Regions from separate parts of the Homo sapiens genome. Here region 2 is linked to region 1. Evidence: promoter capture Hi-C in 16 types of primary human blood cells and fetal thymus (Javierre and others, 2016). All regions are on one chromosome and are shown on one strand. The core of a region is centred on a gene start or on the middle of the fragment in contact, and the rest is flanking DNA. Distances in the headings are between cores, read along the strand shown.

Evidence for each region. The method cuts DNA at HindIII sites, captures the fragments that hold promoters and counts their contacts. A CHiCAGO score of 5 or more calls a contact.
Region 2: a fragment that was not itself captured here is called in contact with the fragment with the promoter of PHLDB3 in region 1 in 1 of 17 cell types (naive B cells); the score reaches 5.2 in naive B cells.

What each region holds. Positions count from the first base shown.
Region 1 is chr19:43,499,794-43,507,421 of GRCh38, reverse strand. It overlaps PHLDB3 (pleckstrin homology like domain family B member 3), which reads left to right and starts at 2,676. Exons shown (of 16, transcript NM_198850.4): 1 at 2,676-2,833; 2 at 3,290-3,516; 3 at 5,139-5,321; 4 at 5,551-5,688. The coding sequence starts at 3,304. It overlaps ETHE1 (ETHE1 persulfide dioxygenase), which reads left to right. Exons shown (of 7, transcript NM_014297.5): 7 at 520-703. The coding sequence ends at 572. RefSeq lists silencers at 2,480-2,539, 3,140-3,389 and an enhancer at 3,018-3,540. The HindIII fragment of the contact is 22,316 bases long and covers 1-7,628 here.
Region 2 is chr19:43,756,921-43,763,738 of GRCh38, reverse strand. No RefSeq gene overlaps it. Among named protein-coding and RNA genes, the nearest start is that of SMG9, 5.4 kb to the right of the region's middle. The HindIII fragment of the contact is 1,951 bases long and covers 1,158-3,108 here.

The sequences.
Region 1 (7,628 bases), core at 1,427-3,926:
TGAGGGAGGAGGGACTGGGGGAGGAGGAGCTGGGGGCCTGGACTCCTGGGTCTGAGGGAGGAGGGACTGGGGACCTGGGCTCCTGGGTCTGAGGGAGGAGGGGCTGGGGGCCTGGACTCCTGGGTCTGAGGGAGGAGGGGCTGGGGGTCTGAACTCCTGAGTCTGAGGGAGGAGGGGCTGGGGGACTGGACTCCTGGGTCTGAGGGAGGAGGGGCTGGGGGACTGGACTCCTGGGTCTGAGGAAGGAAGGGCTGGGGGACTGGACTCCTGGGTCTGAGGGAGGAGGGGCTGGGGGTCTGGGCTCCTGGGTCTGAGGGAAGAGGGGCTGGGGGTCTGGACTCCTGGGTCTGAGGGAGGAGGGGCTGGGGTACTGGACTCCTGGGTCTGAGGGAAGGAGTGGGCTCAGGACCAAAACTCTAGTTTCCTGAAGAGGAAAGGTTCCTAGGATTTCTGGGTCTCCAGTGGGGCCTGGAACTCTACCTAGGCCCCTTAGTTTTAACCTTGATTTCTTCCTTTCAGACTTTGCTGTTCCAGCCAACATGCGCTGTGGGGTGCAGACACCCACTGCCTGATCTCACTTCTGTCAGATGCTCCCATCCACTATTAATGCACTAGGTGGGAGGAGAGGGCGGCAATGACACTGCACCTCTCCTTTCCCACCGCATTCCCTGGAGCTCCCTAAATAAAACTTTTTTTAACGTGAGTCTGACTTCTACCTATTTTCTGGGGGAACCAATTGGGTTTCTGGGCCGAAAGGGGTGGGGTTCTGGTCCTATGGAGAGGCCAGGGAGCCTGCAAGATTTGTTTTCTTTTTCTTTTCTTTTTTTTTTTGAGATGGAGTCTCCCTCCATTGCCCAGGCTGGAGTGCAGTGGCACGATCTCGGCTCACTGCAACCTCTGCCTCCCGGGTTCAAGCGATTCTCCTGCATCAGCTTCCCAAGTAGCTGGGACTACAGGCGCGTGCCACCATGCCCGGCTAATTTTTTCATATTTTTAGTAGAGACAGGGTTTGACCATGTTAGCCAATATGATCTTGATCTCCTGACCTCGTGATCCACCAGCCTCGGCCTCCCAAAGTGCTGGGATTACAGGTGTGAGCCACCGCGCCCAGCCCGGGAGCCCACAAGATTTCTAACTCACAAGATCAAAAACAAACACAGCTATCTGGGGCAGGTCTTCTCATCACCTTGGATTAGAACACCGGCTTGCTTTTGAGCCACTTCCCACTTAGCCCTGGGGTAAGTTACTTCACTTCTCTAGGCCTCAGTTTTCTTATCTCTAAAATGGAAGGAATAATAATGGGGTGTTGTGATGCTCTGATGAGTCAATGTGTGTGAGTGCCTGGCACATGGCCTATCAGTGTTCACCATTAAAGTTACTATCATTTAGAATGATCTTTTGGGTACTTCCTGGCTTGTAGTGACAGTATACGCAATGGTTAAGAACATGGACTTTTGAGAGAATGAAGCCTGCATTTTACCACTTACAACATGTGTAGATGTTGGCTACATTTTTTTTTTTTTTTCTGAGATGGGGTCTTACTCTGTCGCCCAGGCTGGAGTGCAGTGGCACATTCAAGACTCACTGCAGCCTCGACCTCCTGGGCTCGAGATATCCTCCTGCCTCAGCCTCTGGAGTAGCTGAGATGACAGGTGTGTGCCACCACGCCTGGCATAATTTTTGTATTTTTAGTAGAGATGGGGTTTCTCCATGTTGCCCAGGCTGGCCTTGAACTCCTGATCTCAAGCAATCCACCTGCCTCGGCTTCCCAAAGTGCTGGGATTACAGGCCTGAGCCTCTGTGCCCAGCCAACCTTGGGTGCATTTGTCCTCCTCAGCTTGTATCCCCAAGTGTAAAATGGAGATAGTAGGCCAGGAGCGGTGGCTCACGCCTGTAATCTCAACACTTTGGGAGGCTGAGGCAGGCAGGTTGTTTGAGCCCAGGAGTTCAAGATCAGCCTGGGCAACCTGGAGAAACCCAGTCTCTACTAAAAAAAAAGAAATGGAGGTAGTAATCACTTTCTCGCTGGACAGCTTTGAGGGTGAAATTAAATGACTGGGTATAAAGTGTTTCACACAGCTCTTGACTTCTAATCATCCCTTTTCATATACCAGTTATTTTCCTGTTTTCATTTTCCTGTTTTCGCCCAGAGAGGAAAGGGTCTGGCTGAGACCTTTAACCTCTGCCCTCCACCCCATAGCAAAGTTGTGGGGGGGTGGCGGTACACTTCCCTCAGTCTCTGGGCAGGTGTCTGACTCAGTTCAGGGCACCCCTTCCCCTTGTCCAGCTCCCCAAACCGGTCAGGGCCCTTCTGAAGGGCTCATTAGAGGGGAGACGTCCCCATCTCCATTCCTGCCTTCCTTTCTGAACTCCCAAGGTCTGGACATTAGAGAGGCTCCCATACAGAGGTGGCCAAGACTCCTCCAGGGGGGCAGGAATGAGGGGCTCGAGGGAGACTGGGAGGTCGCGATGCTGAGTTCCACGAGGGTGGGGCCGGGCCGGGGCCGGTGGGGCCGGGATGGCCGGATGCCGAGGCCACGGGTGGGGCAAGCCCGTGGCTCCCTCCTCCCTCGGGAGCTGTTGGACCTGTTGTCCCCCCTCCACTTCCGGGCTGCTGGGGAGGGGGACCGGGCGGCCTCTCTCCTCCCTCTTCCCCTGCCACCTGTCTCATAGGCAGAAGCGGCCGTGCCCAGCGCGCAGAGCGGAGCGCGCCGAAGCCTGAGCTCGTGAGGGGGCCGAGGCTGTGGGGAGGTGGCAGTTGGACTTCGGAATCTCAAGGACTCCGACTCCTGGCTTGTTCAGAGAAGGAGAGCCCCGACTCCTGGATCCCTGGGTGAGGCGGCGTGGGCACGGTTGCCCTGCACAGTGGGGTCGGGACTAAGACTACGGGGCTCCGGGAAGGATGGGGCGGGAGCCGAACTGCTGAGTCTCGGAGGGAGAAGATGGGTCGCTCTAAGCGAATCCAAGAGATTGTAGGGGGCTGCTGGGAGGGTACAAGGCCTGACACCTAGAGATGAGGGAGGGGAGGCGGGGTCGAAGAGGTCAGTAGGGGGCGTGCTACGACCCGGACTCAAATTCCGGTCCCGTCTCCGGTGGCGTGTCGCCTTGGAGCCATCAAGCCCCGCCTCTGGAAACTTCAGGACACGCCTCCGTAACGCTCAGTTCCATCCTTTGAACTCTTAGGCCCCGCCTCCTTGGGGGGGGGTCTCCGCGCCCCGGAGCAGACGCGAGCGGCGCTCAGCCGTCCTAGGCCCCGCCCCCGGAGCTTCTGGTCCCGCCCACCCCGCAGGAGTCCCAGCGGCCATGGGGACGCGAAGCAGCCCCGAGGAGGGGACCCCGCCGCCGCTGGTCCCGGAATGCGACGTGGAGGTCCAGCCCCAGGGCCATCCCGAGGAGTCCCGGGAACAGGAGGCATCCGAAGTCCTGGCGGAACCTTCGAGCCGCGGGGGAGCTGAGCAGCAGGCAGAGGAAGAAGAAGTGGGAGAAGGCAGCAGCACTGAGAGCAGCCGCGACGCGGTGAGGGGCCCGAGGGCGACAGCGCGGGGGGCTTGGACCGACGGGGACCCAAACAGGTGGCCAGACAGGTAGACAGGTAGAGGGAAACCAGAAAGACAGAGACCCGGAGACAGGGAGAGAGACCGAGTGATAGCAGAGACTACTGAGAGAGAGATACACCAGGACACGGAGCCAGAGAGGCAGAGGCACAGACAGACAGAAACCAGATACAGAGACAGAAACCAGATAGAGCCACGGGGAGGCCCCAAGAACGGAGATAGACCCAAACGGGCGACAGAGACAGAGAGACTAGTATAGAGGAACCAGATAGGTGGCTCACGCCTGTAATCCCAGCACTTGGGGAGGCCGAGGGGAGGATTGCTTAAGCCCAGGAGTTCGAGACAAGTCTGGGCAACATAGCAAATCCCTGTCTCTAGAGAAAAAAAAAATACAAAAATTGTCCAAGCGCAGTGCCGCGTGCCTGTAATCCCAGCTACTCGGGAGGCTGAGGCAGGAGGATCGCTTGAGCCCAGGAGTTGTAGGCTGCGGTGAACTATGACTGCGCCACTGCACCCCAGCCTGGGACAAAGCAGAACCTATCTCTAAAAATGAGAGAGAGAGAGAGAGAGAGAGAGAGAGAGAGAGACCAGATAGACAGACAGGAGAGACTACAGAACAGAGAGAACCAAACGAGTAAGAGATGCAGAGAGATCAAGAAGCCAGACAGAGACCCAGAGACATGGAGACTGAGAGACAAAGACCCCAAAAAGACAGAGACACAGTGAGACTAGAGTCAGAGAGAGGGGAATCGAGACAGAGGGAAACCCAGAAATAAATGGCAGAGATGCTCAGAGAAACAAATAGACAAAAACCTCGAGAGAGGGACATACTCCGAGGAAGAAAGATCTAGTGATTCTAGTGGACAGATCTAGTGGACAGATACCGAATCTGAGAGACTGGGGTCAGGTGGAGAGACAGAGACAGATCCAGGCACTACAAGAAAGTGACGCCAAGAGAATAGGACCTGATAGAGAAAAAGAAACACCTTTCATAAGTCGGCTTTACACCTGCTCACCCTCCATACGGTACTGCAAGCCTCTGTGGTCCGTGTGGTTGGGTGGTCACGGGACTTGCACCCTCCCCCACTCCGACCTTAAATACAGGGGTCTGAGGCCGGGCGCGGTGGCTTATGCCTGTAATCGTAGCACTTTGGGAGGCCGAGGTGGGAGAATCCCTTGAGCCTAGGAGTTTGAGACCAGCCTGGGCAACATAGCATCGCCCCCTCTCTGCCAAAAAAAAAAAAAAAAAAAAAGAGCTTGGCGTGGCGGTGCGCGCCTGTAGTCACAGCTACCTAGGAGGATGAGGCAGAAGAATCGCTTGAGCGAGGGAGGTCGATGCTGCAGTGAGCCGTAATCGCGCCACTGCACTCCAGCCAGTGAGACCCTATCTCAGGACAAAAAAAAAAAAAAGATAAGAAAGAAAAAGAAAAGAGCCTGCGACAGATTATGGGAGTGGTGGTTGTGTTAGGTAAGTGGACTGATGGACTGAGACCCGCAGAGGGTGATGTTGGGTGGGGACCAGACCTACTTAGTGATTGCAGGGGGCGAGGCATCTCCACTTAACCACGCCCCCCTCAACTTCAGCCCGAGGCTACGCCTCCGATAGCTATGGCGGCCACACCTCCCGCATCCACCTCTTCGCGGGAAGGGGTGCGAGGGGCGGCGCGGCGCCTGCAAGGACAGCAGCTGGAGGCATTGACTCGTGTGGCCCTGATGGAGCAGCGAGTGAAGGAGCTACAGCGCCAGAGGAAGGAGCTGAGGATCGAGGTGAGGCTGCGGACCCCTTGGGAAGCCTGGCCCCAACTCAAGCGGAACCCGCAAAGCCGGACTCCCAGCTTTTTCCTCGGGTGGGATCAGATTTTAGGCCCTCCGCTCTTCCTCCCTCCAAATTCAGGTCCCTGGAGTCCATCCTCCCTTCGAATCCGGTAGTTCAGGCCCTGGGCCTCTTCCTTGGACCTAGGCGTCCGAGCCCCCAGCCCTGGCATTCTCTCCGCAGATGGAGGTGGAGGTGGCCTTGCTGCGGGGTGAGCTGGCTGGGGAGCGAGTGGCCGCTCGCCGGGAGGAGGAGCAGCTGCGGGAGCTGCTGGAGCAGCAGGCGGCCTCGGAGCAGCGCGGCCGCCAGCAGCGGGAACAGGTCTGTTTGGCTCACCGGGTCTTCATCAGCAGTGTCCTTCCTGGTCCATGGATGTTGGTGTGCTCCTAGCCACCTGCGCCCCGGGGTTGTCCCCATTCCCCAAAGGAAGACATTTGGGCTCCTGAGAGAGTGAGGGGCAGATGCCCCTCCTGGTTTTCCTTCTCCCTCCCTGGGCGAGATTTTTGGGGCTCTTCCTTTGTCCCCTGTCCGTTTGCTATTTAAATGTGGGTGTGTAAAAACTTCCAAACTGGCCGGAAGCAGTGGCTCACGCCTGTAATCATAGCACTTTGGGAGGCCGAGGCGGGCGGATTGCCTGAGCTCAGGAGTTTGAGACCAGCCTGGGCAACATGGCGAAACCCCGTCTCTGCTTAAAAATACAAAAATTAGCAGGGCGTGGTGGCGGGCGCCTGTAGTCCCAGCTACTTGGGAGGCTGAGGCAGGAGAATCGCTTGAATCCGGGAGATGGAGGTTGCAGTGAGCCAAGATCGCACCATTGCACTCCAGCAGCCTGCGTGACAAGAAGGAGACTCCGTCTCAAAAAAAAAAAAAAAAAAAAAAGAGAAAAAGAAAACTTCCAAACCCACCCCACAATAGTCAGGCAGCTCCCATGTCCTGTGCCCACCAGCTTCATCAATGATTAATATTCTTACATTCTTGTTTCATTATCTCCAATTTGTTCTCGTCCCCAGTTTTAAAAGCCAATCCCAGACATCATATGGTCTGTACATATGTTTAGAGTGTATCATTGACAGATAAGAAATCCTTTTAGGCTGGGCCAAGTGGCTCACACCTGTAATCCCAGTACTTGCGGGGTGGGGGGGGGGTACGGGGGGCGGGGCAAAGTGGGAGGATCGCTTGAGGCCAAGACTATGAGACCAGCCTGGCAATATTATAATAAGACACCGTTTCTGTGAAAAATAAAAATACAAAAATTAACCAGGCATGGTGGCATGTGCCTGTGGCCTCAGACTCAGAAGAGTGAGGTGGGAGGATCAATTGAGCCCAGAAGGTAGAGGCTGCAGTGAGCTGTGATTATAACATTGCACTCCAACCTGGGCGATAGAGCAAGACCCTGTCTCAAAAATAAAAAATTAATAAGTTCTTAGTATTGTCTTATTTCTGGTTAGTTTTTGTGTTTCCCAGACAGTCTCAAAATGCCAGTTAACAGGTGGCTTGTTTGAATGAAGTCCCCAAAGTTCAGTGTGATTGGCTGATACGTCTTGCCCATTGTTTTATCTCTGGTGGTTCCTACCCGCTGTGTCTTCCCCATACTGTTTATTGGAAAAATCCAGTCTTCTGTCCTATAGGCAGAGCATGGCTGATCGCATGCCTGTGGTGCCCTTGAACATGCCTCTGTTTCTGCAAGTGGGTGTTGGTTAGAGGGAGAGGTTTGATCGTATTCAGAAGTGCTTTAGTGCTTCCTGAGCCAGTGTTGGGAACCTCATCTCTGGTTGTCCCGACCTAATAAGATCACCCTAGTCTCTTTTTTTTTGCGAGACACAGTTTCGCTCTTGTTGCCCAGGCTGGAGTGCAATGGCGTGATCTTGGCTCACCGTAACCTCTGCCTCCCAGGTTCAAGCGATTCTCCTGTCTTAGCCTCCCCAGTAGCTGGGATTACAGGCATGCACCACCATGCCCGGGTAATTTTGTATTTTCAGTAGAGATGGGGTTTCTCCATGCTGGTCAGGCTGGTCTCGAACTCCTGACCTCAGGTGATCTGCCCGCCTTGGCCTCCCAAAGTGCTGGGATTACAGGTATGAGCCACCGCAGTTCGAGGCCAGCCTGGCCAACATGATGAAACCCCATCTCTACTAAAAATACAAAAAATTAGCTGGGCGTGGTGGCAGGCACCAGTAATCCCAGCTATTCGGGAGGCTGAGGCAGGAGAATTGCTTGAATCCGGGAGGTGGAGGTTGCAGCTCCCAGGAGCCAAGATCACA
Region 2 (6,818 bases), core at 884-3,383, 260 kb before region 1:
AGGAGCTGAGTCTCATGGTGATTTTGGCTCCTTCCTTCTCCTATTTCTGTTCTGCCTGCACTCTCATGAGGACTGGGTGGGGGAAAGGCGGTCCAGAGAGGGCAGGGGCTTCCCAGGGTCATACAGCCAGTCACGGGCCTTTCCCCTTCATAAATCCCCCAACTGCCCTTGAGGACCTTTCTAACACCCACACACTTCCCATTCCTCCCACTGCCCTCCTGTCAAAGTCTAGCTCTGAGTCCAGCTCTTTTTTTTTTAGAGACAGAGTCTTGCTCTGTCACCCAGGCTGGAGTACAGTGGTACAATCGTAGCTCACTGCAGCCTCGAATTCCTGCACTCAAGTGATCCTCCTGCCTCAGCCTCCCAAGCAGCTGGGACTACAGCTGTGTGCCACCATGCCTGCCCCCTTTTTTTCTTTAACTGACATATATTTTAACATACAATAAAGTACACAAATTTTAAATGTAATCTCAATATATTTCTTCAAATACATTCACCTGAGTAGCCATCACTCAGATCAAGCTAGAAGTGTCTAGCCCCCTAAAGCTCTCATTTCCCTCCCAGCCAACAGCCCCCTTCATCCCAGGAACCACCATCCTGACCTGTCTTGATTCCTTTTGTTCAACTTTGAACTTTGGAAGGAACCCTGCTGCACGCCCTGGTGTGTATCTGTGTCTTGGGCTCTGCAGGGTGGTGGTGAGATTCAGCCATGCTGCTCATCCTTTTCATTACACAGTAGTATTCCATTGTGTCAGTATGCCCACAAGCCTCACCCGGGGGACTCTGCAAGCTCAGTCTCTCCCCGTCTTCTGGCCTCCCCTTCTCCTCCCTGTCCTGGCTGCTCAGGCCACTAGGCTCCTCTTCCTTCCCAAACTGCCTGCTGCTCTCCCCTCCTTCTTGCCCCATCCACTCAGAATAAAAATAAACATCACTAACATTTATTCAGTTCTTTGTTGTAGAGACGGGGGTCTCACTATGTTGCCCAGGCTGGTCTCAAACTCCTGGGCTCAAGAGATCCTCCCACCTTGGCCTCCCAAAGTGCTGGGATTACAGGCAGGAGCCACCATGCCCAGCCCAGCTATTTATTATGGTCCATAAAGGAAGCTGTATCATCATCATCAACACCAGACTGGCAGTCCAAAGGCATGCTTTAAGCTTTTATGTTGTGTGGAATAGCTGCTAACATATACAAACCAGGAGAGTGCTTTTTATAATTTGGAGGGGGTGTCAAATGATAAAACTTTCCTTTCTTTTTCCAGGATGAGCTGGCCCTTCTTCAAGTCAAGTCTAGCCCCCTCACCCTGTCCACACCTCCTCAAAAAACAGCTCCAAAGTCTCCTGGTCTCTTTTCCCTCTATCATTCCCATCTGCACACAAACATGCTATAATTTCTCCCATCTTATAAACATCCCACTGGAACTTTCAGAAGCATTTTAGATTCTCCATTTTCCTTAAAGTTCACTATTCACCAAACTGCAAAATATCTGTCGCTCTGTCACCTAGGCTGGAGTGCAGTGGCGTGATCTCGGCTCACTGCAACCTCTGCCTCTCAGCTTCAAGCAATTCTCGTGCCTCGGCCTCCCGAGTGTAGCTGGGATTACAGGTATGCACCTCCACCACGCCCAGCTAATTTTTTGTATTTTTAGTAGAGATGGGGTTTCATTATGTTGGCCAGGCTGGTCTCGAACTCCTAGCCTCACGTGTTCTGCCTGCCTCTGCCTCCGCCTCCCAAAGTGCTGGGATTACAGATGTGAGCCACCAAGCCCGGCCATAAAGTTGGTTCTAAACTCCTGCTACATAGAATGACATAAAAGACTTTGCCAGACATAAAGAGCTAAAGATGCCAGACACACGGAAGACATGCTGTAAGATTTCATTCGCATGAAGTTCAAAAACAGACACAACGAATCTCTGTGCCTGTTTTTGAAAGGCATTAGATGGGTGGTTGCTTCTGGAGCAGGGGAATTGACAGGGAAAGAGCACAAGGAAGACGTCTGGGTGCTGGAAATGTTCTCTGATTAGCGGTTACATGGATGCATAAATTTGTGAAAATTCATTACCTGGTACACTTAAGATCTGTGCCCTTTATATACTTTACCACACTTAAGTTATATGTCACCCAAAAAGAAAATAAATAAAAATAAAGAAAAATAAGTACTTATACATTTTTCCTGATAGATACTGAGAAGGTTCCATAACACAGTTAGATGGGGGATCAAAAGTCATGTCTTTTCCATGGTGGACCCCACATCTGCCTCCAGCTGCTGCCCCGTGTCTCTGCTCCTTAGTCCATTATCTTCTCTTTGGAACCCTTTGATCCCATGGCGCCAGGTCATCCCCTCTCCTGACACTCCTGGCTCCATCTCAGCCCCTCTCCAGGATCCTGGCTTCTACATGCGGGATGCTCAGGCCTAGTCCCTGCTCTCTTCAACCTCTCAGCCTAGATGATCTCAGCAAATCATAGCTTTAAATATCATCTATAAATAGGCAGCTCCAAAATTTAGCATACTTGTATAGTTATTAACAAAATGACAGGTTATCTGTGATTTTCTTAAAACAAACAAAACTCCAGGGGGTGGCGGGAAGTATGCTTATATGTGGGAGGGAAAAATAGAAGACATAAGACAAGAAAAATGCAGATGTCTGTCAATATTGGGCGATGGGTACGTGGGAGTCTCTTCATACCATAACATCTTTGTGTGTATTTTTAAAACTCTGTAGTGACTGTAATCCCAGCCTTTGGGAGGCTGATGGGGTGGATTGCTTGAACCCAGGGGTTCGAGACCAGCCTAGGCAGCATAGTGAACCCTCATCTCTAAAAAATTAGCCGGGTGTGCTAGAGCATATGTGGTCCCAGCTACTTGGGAGGCTGAGGCAGGAGGATTGCTTGAGCTCGGGAGGTGGAGGTTGCAGGGAGCCAAGATCGTGCCATTGCATTCCAGCCTGGGTGACAGTGCAAGACTTTGTCTCAAAATAAATTAATTAATTAAACTAAATTCTGTGACGCAAAGTCAGAAAGTCTTTATCTACAAACCCCGGCTTTTTCCCCTAACTCCAACCACTTATTTGATGACCAACGTGCATCTCAAAGTTAAGAATTTCAAAGCTTGTTGATTTCCCATCAAAAGTACTTTTCCTCATCCCGGTAAAAAGCCTCAGTCTTAGGCCGGGCGTGGTGGCTCACGCCTGTAATCTCAGCACTTTGGGAGGCTGAGGCGGGTGGATCACGAGGTCAGGAGATCGAGACCATCCTGGCTAACATGGTGAAACCCCGACTCTACTAAAAATACAAAAAAATTAGCCGGGCGTGGTGGTGGGCACCTGTAGTCCCAGCTACTCGGGAGGCTGAGGCAGGAGAATGGCATGAACCCAGGAAGCGGAGCTTGCAGTGAGCCGAGATCACGCCACTGTACTCCAGCCTGGGCGACAGAGCAAGACTCCATCTCAAAAAAAAAAAAAAAAAAAAAAAAAAAAAAGTCTCAGTCTTCAGGCAGTTGGCCAGGACCAAAACCTCTCGAACTTTTTTTTTTTAATTATTATTATACTTTAAGTTTTAGGGTACATGTGCACAATGTGCAGGTTTGTTACATATGTATACATGTGCCATGCTGGTGTGCTGCACCCATTAACTCGTCATTTAGCATTAGGTATATCTCCTAATGCTATCCCTCCCCCCTCCCCGCTAGAACTTTTTTTAATGCTGCAAATAACATGATGTTTTAATATATGTACACATTGTGGAATGGCTAAATCAAGCTAATTAACATATGCATTATTTCACATACTTATTTTTTTGTGGTGTGAGAAAACTTAAAATCTATTATTTTAGTAAGTTTCAAGCATATAACACATTGTTATGAATGAGAGTCACCCTGTTGTACAACAGATCTCTAGGATGACTTTCAAGTCACCCCTGATTCATGCTTCCTCTCACACCCCATGTTTAATTTCTTGGCGCTACCTTCAAAAAAGATCCCAGTTCCTGACCCTTCTCAACTCATCTATTAGCACCACCCTCTTCCAGAACCACTATCCTTTCTTGCCCAGGCAAGGACACCAGCTTTCTCATCTCCTGCTTCCGCCCCTGCAGGCCATTCTCCTCACAGCAACCAGCACTGTTTTCACTGAACATTTTTGCGCATAGCTAATAATTACGTGGTTTAAAAAAACAACAACGCTTTTTAAGTTCCCATAGCCCTGACCCACATCTGTCTATAACCCTCATCCCTATAGGCAATCACTGTTAATTTTTGTTGTTCACTGGAGAAGTCTTTGTAAACATTAATTGGAACAAGCCGGTGCTTGTTTGTAGCCCTGCAATGGCTTTGTTACATTTGGAAGTAAATTCCAAATGCTTACCATGGCCTGTAAGACTTTATGTAAACTGGCCCTGTCTACAGCTCCGTCTCTAAATAATCCTGCCCTTCTTTCCCTCCCTTGCTCTGTTTCAGCCACTCTGGCCACCTTGACCATCCTTGGACAGCCAGGCCCACTCCCACTTTGGGGTCTTTTACTGGCCGTTCTTCAGCATCTTTAGATGGCTCATTTCCTGACCTTCCTTAACTGCATTCAGGCCTCTGATCAAATGTCATCCCCTCAAAGCGGCCTTCCCTGGCCACCTGTCACTCTCTGTGACCTCTATCACTGTCAATTCCTGTAACCTGACTTTTTTTTTTTTTTTTGAGACAGAGTCTCGCTCTGTTGCCCAGGCTGGAGTGCAGTGGTGCGATCTTGGCTCACTGCAAGCTCCGCCTCCCAGGTTCATGTCATTCTCCTGCCTCAGCCTCCGGAGTAGCTGGGACTACAGGCGCCCGCCACCACGCTTGGCTAATTTTTTGTATTTTTAGTAGAGACGGGGTTTCACCATGTTAGCCAGGATGGTCTCGATCTCCTGACCTTATGATCTGCCCGCCTCGGCCTCCCAAAGTGCTGGGATTACAGGCGTGAGCCACTGCGCCCGGCACCTGACTTTATTTTTAATTGAAAAATAAAAATTGTATATATTTATGGTGTACAACATGTTTTGTATATTTATACATTGTACAATGGCTAAATCAAGCTAATTAACATATGCATTATTTCACATATTTATCATTTTTGTGGTGAGGACACTGAAAATTTATCCTCTTAGCAATTTTCAAGTATACATTGTTACTAACTATAGTTACCATGTTGTGGACTGGATCTCTTGAATTTATTCCTCCTGTCTAAATGAAATTTTGTATCCTTTGCAATGTCTTCCCAATCCTCACCCCCGATTTTCTTTTCTTCCAAGCATCCTTTATCTGATGTCATCTGCCCCACTAGAATATCTGCTCCCAAAGGGCAGGTGCTTTTCCTATTCATTACAGGATCTCCAGCCTACAGCTGTGCCTGGCAGATGACTAGAGTTCCATAATTCATTCAACATATAAATGAAAGAAATGAACAAAAAGTGAAAAAGAGATGAACAGGGCCAGGCGCAGTGGCTCACACCTGTAGTCCCAGCACTTTGGGAAGCTGAGGTGGAAGGATTGATTGAGGCCAGCCTCGGCAACATGGTGAAACTCTGTCTCTACAAGAAATACAAAAATTAGCCGGGTGTGGTGGCACATGCCTGTAGTCTCAGCTACTCGGGAGGCTGAGACAGGAGAATTGCTTGAACCTGGGAAGCTGAGGCTGCAGTGAGCTATGATCATGCCACTGTACTCCAGCCTGGGTGACAGAGGGAGACCCTGTCTCAAAAACAAAAAATAAAGACATGAACAGATCATTTGGCAATGGCTCTCAAAATTCCCAATGTGCATACCCTTTGACCCAGCAATTCTACTTGCACTTCAAATGAGATAGTCTACTGACAATACTAACATATACATGCAGCCACGTGTACCAGGATATTAACTGTAGCATAATCTCAGCACTTTGGGAGGCTGAGGCAGGAGGACTGCTTGAGCCAGGAGTTTGAGACAGCCTGGGCAACATAGTGAAACCCCGTCTCTACAAAAAATAGAAAATTAGCTGGGTGTGGTAGCACATGCCTGTGGTCCCAGCTACTCCTCAGGCTGAGGTGGGAGGATTGCTTAAGCCCAGGAGGTTGAGGCTGCAGTGAGCCACAACTGTATTACATGACTCCAGCCTGGGCGAGACAGCAAGAACATGTCTGAAAAAGAAAAAATTAGAAAACAGAAACATACACACAAACCCCTGCAGTAAATGTTTGTAAGAGCAGAAGTTCAGCAACAGTCTAAATGCTCATCAACAGAGAAAGTGTTAAAGTATGATATATCTCCAGAACAGCATACCATGCCACTAATACAAAAGGCAGCTCACTGGGTGCCTGACTGTACTGCTGACTCATCACCAGGCTGGCTCCCCGGTGCCAGGGAAAAAGTGTAGGCTTGCTCTGGAGTGAGACAGGCTTGGGTTTGAATCCAGGCCCGGGTTTGAATCCAGGCCCTGCTGCTTCCTGCCTATGGGGACTTCGGTAAGGCCCTTCTCTCTTCCAGGCTCATTTGTCTACATCTGTTTTTTTTTTTTTTTTTTTTTTTTTTTGAGACAGAGCCTTACTCTGTCACCCAGGCTGGAGTGCAGTGGTGCGATATCAGCTCACTGCAACCTCCACCTCCTGGGTTCAAGTGATTCTCGTGCCTCGGCCTCCCGAGCAGCTGGCATTACAGGCGCATGCCACCACACCCGGCTAATTTTTGTACTTTTAGTAGAGATGGGGTTTCGCTATGTTGGCCAGGCTGGTCTTGAACTCCTGACCTCAGGTGATCTGCCTGCCTCGGCCTCCCAAAGTGCTGAGATTACAAGCGTGAGTCACTGCGCGGACCAACATC